Linked DNA regions of Homo sapiens: region 1 is linked to region 2. Evidence: promoter capture Hi-C in 16 types of primary human blood cells and fetal thymus (Javierre and others, 2016). All regions are on one chromosome and are shown on one strand. The core of a region is centred on a gene start or on the middle of the fragment in contact, and the rest is flanking DNA. Distances in the headings are between cores, read along the strand shown. Region 1 has its middle 23 kb from the start of TRA2B. Region 2 holds the start of KNG1 (kininogen 1).

Region 1 (2,749 bases), core at 170-2,669, 760 kb before region 2:
AGTGAAACTCCATTAAAAAGAAAGAAAGAAAGAAAGAAAGAAAGAAAACAGCAGTGTTGGCTGAGTGCAGTGGCTCATGCCTGTAATCCCAGCATTTTGGGAGGCCAAGGTGGGCGGACCACCTGAGGTCAGGAGTTCGAGACCAGCCTGGCCAACATGGTGAAATCCCCTCGTCTCTACTAAAAATACAAAAAAAAAAAAAAAAAAAAAAAATTAGCCAGGCATAGTGGCACGTGCCTGTAATCCCAGCTACTTGGAAGGCTGAGGCAGGAGAATCCTTTGAACCCAGTGGGTGGAGATTGCAGTGAGCTGTGACTGTGACATTGCACTCAAGCCTGGGTAACAAGAACAAAACTCCATCTCAAAAAAAAAAAAAAAAAAAAAAAGAAGAAGAAAAGAAAAAGAAAAAAAGAAAATTGAAAATTGCAGTGTCACAGTGAGTAAGTGGACTAGTGGTAACAGGAACAAGGAGGGGCACAATAAAAGGCGTGGTAATTGGAATGGGTTTATAATTCTCACCAGAGAAGAAACACAGCATTTCGGCTGGTGTCGCTGCTCCAGGGAAAGTTCTGTTACTCCACTGACTCTCTCTTTTCCTGATAACATGGCCAGCAAGAAAGTAATTACAGTGTTTGGAGCAACAGGTAAAAAGTCTTTAATTTTTAGGGCATGCTGACTTTGCTCACTCTCCTGTCTTCCTGTTTGTAACTTTAGAGCCTGCAAGTGTGGGCTGAACAAAGAGCTCTTTGGAAGAAATTTTTTAAAGTATCCTATTGCTTTAGTTCTTGATGTGGTAAAGGGGTGGCATGATTTGATTTGTAACTTGATCTCAGCAGGACAAGGACACTGACGTAATCTCCCTTTCCCAGTCATGGGGCTAACTGGTTGGTATAAGTCTCATTTCAACATAAGCTATACTCTGAAGTCTTCTCTCCACTCACTTCCTAATAAGCAAAAGGTACAAGTGTGAGGGGCCTGGGGGTTTGTAGTGAATATCCAATGCCTGACCAATCTTCCAGGGAGTCTGCAAGGATGGAGTGTGTGGGAAGTTTGCATTCCTGGCTCCCTTACAGTTTGTTCCTCAACAGTCAGAGCCATCTTTGCACAATATAAATCAAATCAGGTTTTTCTCCTTCAATCTATTCTCATTTCAGCCTCCCAAGGATCCATTTGAAACTGTCAGATCATGTCAGGCCTCTGCTCAAAACCCTCTAAAAGATCCCAGCCCCATGGCACTCCCAGTAAAGTGCAAAGTCCTGCTAATGCCCTGCAACAGGGCCTTGGAAATGTTGTGTCAGAACTCTCTTCCTGCCACCCTCCTCTCACTCCGCTTCATTACCCTGGCTTTCTTGCTGTTCCTCCAAAACAATCCCACAAATACAAAGGCTCTGGCCTTTGTATTGGCTGCTTCTTCAACCTAGAATGATCTCCCTCTGTTACTGATATAATTTGACTGTGTCCCCACCCAAATCTCATCTTGAATTGTAGTTCCCACAATCCCTACATGTCATACGAGTGACCAGGTGGAGATAAATGAATGCTGGGGGCGGTTCCCCCAGCCTGTTCTCATGATAGTGAAAAGAGAGAGTTCCCTGGTCCTGGTCCCCCACCACAGGGTGTGCCACAGGGGTGTGGCTCTCTGTTCTGCCACTGCAAGCTCAAACTCTTTAAGAGATGGGGAGCATGCATACCGGTAGGTGCAGGAACTGGGGCAAGTGCTTTTGGGCTCCAGCCCTATGGCAGCATCTAGGGGTGGGTGTCTGTAACTTTCAAAGCCCAAGTGTGCATGTGTTACAGTGCACTCTTTTAGCCTTGCCATCCACAGATGGCTTAAGGGTTAACCAGCTCAGTGAACCCTCTGCCTTTTTGCAAAAGGAGGGGGCTAGTGTGACAACTTTCTGTATCCCAAGCCCTCATCCAGCATCCCAGAAGAATCAGGTCACACATGGACTTGAAGGATGAATGCAGGGGTTTTATTGAGTGGTGGAAGTGGCTCTCAGTGGGATGGTTGGGGAGCTAGACAGGGGATGGAGTAGAAATATGATCTTGCCCTGGAGTTTGGCTGTCCAGTGGCTGATTCTCCGAACATCCTCAGCCAAACTCCTCCTGACGTTCCTTCTCTTCTCTCCTCTGCTGCACCATTCTGCCATCTGTTTGTCTCCTTGTCTCCTAGTCTGCTTCTGGAGCCTGGGGTTTGGGGCTTATATGGATACAGGATAGGGGTGGTGGCAGGCCAGAAGGCAACTTTTGGGGTGCAAAAACAGGAATGCCTATTACTTAGGGCAGCAGGTATCCAGGCTTAAGGGTGGGGCCTTTGCCAGGAACCACCCTCTTCTACCCAGTATTTCCCTGTCTCCTGTTCGTATCAATAGTGAGTTCGTTCTCATGAGATCTGGTGGTTTTACAAGCGGCTTCCCCCTTCACTGGGCCCTCATTTTCTCTGCTGCCACCCTGTGAAGTGGTGTCTCCCGCCATGATTGTAAGTTTCCTGAGACCTCCCTAGCCATGTGAAACTGTGAGTCAATTAAACCTCTTTTCTTTATAAATTACCCAGTGTTGGGTATTTCTTCACAGCAGTGTGAGAAAGAACTAACACAGTTACCCACTGCTTTCCCCCTCATGCCATTCAGGTCTCTGCTTAGATGTTACCTTTTCCATGGGGACTTTCCAGACCTCTATATTTGAAATTGCAACTCTGCTTCCACCCTGCCCATGTCTGGCTCCCTTCCTTACTTCAATTCTTCTATTT
Region 2 (2,763 bases), core at 32-2,531:
AGGCCGAATTTTTTTTTTTTTTTTTTTTTTTTGGACAGAGTTTTGCTCTTGTTGCCCAGGCTGGATTGCAATGGCGCAATCTCAGCTCACTGCAATCTCCACCTCCCGGGTTCCAGCAATTCTCCTGCCTCAGCTTCCCGAGCAACTAGGATTACAGGCATGTGCCACTACGCCCGGCTAATTTTGTATTTTTAGTGGAGATGGGGTTTCTCCATGTTGGTCAGGCTGGTCTCGAACTCCCGACCTCAGGTGATCCACCCATCTCAGCCTCCCAAAGTGCTGGGATTACAGGTGTGAGCCACCGTGCCTGGCCAATTTTTACTGGAGTAAGGATGTTGATACCATCAAGCCTCACACTTCTGCTGAGATTATCAACTGTAGTTTTCCAATGTTGGTCTACAGGTGGGGACCATTCTGTAATATAGTTTCCCCACTCTGTGTTGATGTGAGGAAAATAAGAATAATAAAGTTTTATTGCTGGCTTTGAGGGAGAAGGGTTCTATGACCCGCCTTGGGGAAGAGAAATTCTAGCTTCTGTGGCCTGCCTTGAGAGAAGTGGAGCAGGAGAAAGACGGGCAGGAGAAAGCAAGAAAGAGACTTTGCTTTTGCAGCCTTTTTAATGTCTTTCAGTTCAAAGTACTCGGCATGCCAAAGAGCCATATTTGGGGCTATCTTTTTCTGTGCCAAACCAACAACACCAAACCAGAAAGAAGCAAGCATAGGGAATCCAGGGCTTCACTCAACCCATCCCTTCCTATGCTTTTCCTCTATCTCCACCCTGGGAGCAATTTTCTTTTACAGAACTAATGCAACTGAGCAGAGAAAGGCTGGCCTGTCCAGAGAGCAGATAGGACGCCCATATTTTATTTTCAGTTGTGCCAATGTCCTGCATGGGACTCCTGGAACTCACTGGATGCCCCTGTGCATGAGCTTCTTAGGCATGTAATAGAATTAACAGCAGTCTGCTTCTATGCAGGTAGGTATCCTGCAAAGAAACTTTGTATGAAATGTGTCTGCACATTGTACTCATTCTTGCATTGTTTACCCATGTAGTGACCTTCAAAAATGGCTTTGCAAAAGTCACAGGGGAATAACCGAGTTAGTAGGCACTTGTTTCCCCTCCTTCATCAGATTCTGCTCTGATTTGCTACATAAAGTTGTATAATCACCTGGAAATATGCACTGTGCTGCCACGTGATTTTCAAATGCAAATGAGCAGGTTAACAACCCCAGTGTTGCAATGTTCTAGCTGTAAATATGTTTGGATAACCCAGCAGAGCCATTTAACCTTTGGGAACAAGGCAACTAGCGTCTGGCAGCAGGAATCCAACCAGTGCCCTGAGTTCTGAGGCAGAGAGGAGGACAGAAGAAACAAGAGGCTGGAGATTGTCAAATTCAGTATCCCAGTTGGCTCTTGATTCTTGGTGAAACCATCCCTCAGCTCCTAGAGGGAGATTGTTAGATCATGAAACTAATTACCATCCTTTTCCTCTGCTCCAGGCTGCTACTAAGTTTAACCCAGGAATCACAGTCCGAGGAAATTGACTGCAATGACAAGGATTTATTTAAAGCTGTGGATGCTGCTCTGAAGAAATATAACAGTCAAAACCAAAGTAACAACCAGTTTGTATTGTACCGCATAACTGAAGCCACTAAGACGGTGAGTGAATTGTGTTTAACCTTGAAGTCACTTGGGATTTGTACTATCACTAGGAGTCCAGGCCTCACACACACACACACATACCACCACCAGCACCCACCACCACCACCCACCACCCACCACCATCACCCACCACCACCACCACAACCACCACCACCACCCACCACCACCACCACCATCCACCACCACCCACCACCCACCACCACCCACCACCATCACCCACCACCCACCACCCACCACCACCCACCATCATCACCCACCACCACCCACCACCATCACCCACCACCCACCACCACTCGCCACCATCACCCACCACCATCACCCACCACCCACCACCCACCACCACCAACCACCACCATCCACCACCACCAACCACCACCCACCACCACTACCACCCCTCACCACCCACCACCACCGCCACCCACCACCCACCACCATCACCCACCACCACCACCATCCACCACCACCACCCAACCACCACCACCCACCACCCACCACCATCACCCACCACCCACCACCACCCACCACCCACCACCCACCACCATCACCCACCACCTACCACCCACCACCCACCACCACCACCACCCACCACCACCCACCACCCACCACCACCACCACCCACCACCACCCACCACCACTACCACCCCTCACCACCCACCACCACCGCCACCCACCACCCACCACCATCACGCACTACCAAATATGTGATCATCAAAGGTAGAAGCTTACAACTTGTGGAAAGACAGATACCACTCTCTGGCCTGGGGTGGGAGGACAGAGTATGACTCGTCCTCAGGCAGGTTGGCTTCCTGGATGATCAGAGAAGTAGAATCTAGGGTGAAATGAAACAAAAGTAGATGGAGAAATCTCAACAGGACCAAGTAGAGAGGGAGAATTTAGGAATTTAGTTAGACTGCAGCAAAAGAATTCACTGGGTCTCTGGCCCTAGGCTAAAAACTATAGAACTCCAAACCTTTAATGGGAGGGGGTACTTCATGGGGCATGTCTAAGAGGAGTGAGGAATGAGGTTAATGTGATTCTACGGAATTAGACAGAAGTCTGTATGGCTGAATGTACTGGGTTTAACAGCAACGTTTTAGTTA

What was found. Contacts are between HindIII fragments. The CHiCAGO score rates a contact against its expected background, and 5 or more counts as called.
Region 1: a fragment that was not itself captured here is called in contact with the fragment with the promoter of KNG1 in region 2 in 1 of 17 cell types (total B cells); the score reaches 5.5 in total B cells.

What each region holds. Positions count from the first base shown.
Region 1 is chr3:185,959,435-185,962,183 of GRCh38, forward strand. It overlaps the pseudogene NMRAL2P. Among named protein-coding and RNA genes, the nearest start is that of TRA2B, 23 kb to the left of the region's middle. The HindIII fragment of the contact is 4,527 bases long and covers 1-2,749 here.
Region 2 is chr3:186,716,078-186,718,840 of GRCh38, forward strand. It overlaps KNG1 (kininogen 1), which reads left to right and starts at 1,282. Exons shown (of 10, transcript NM_001102416.3): 1 at 1,282-1,660. The coding sequence starts at 1,466. The HindIII fragment of the contact is 10,098 bases long and covers 1-2,382 here.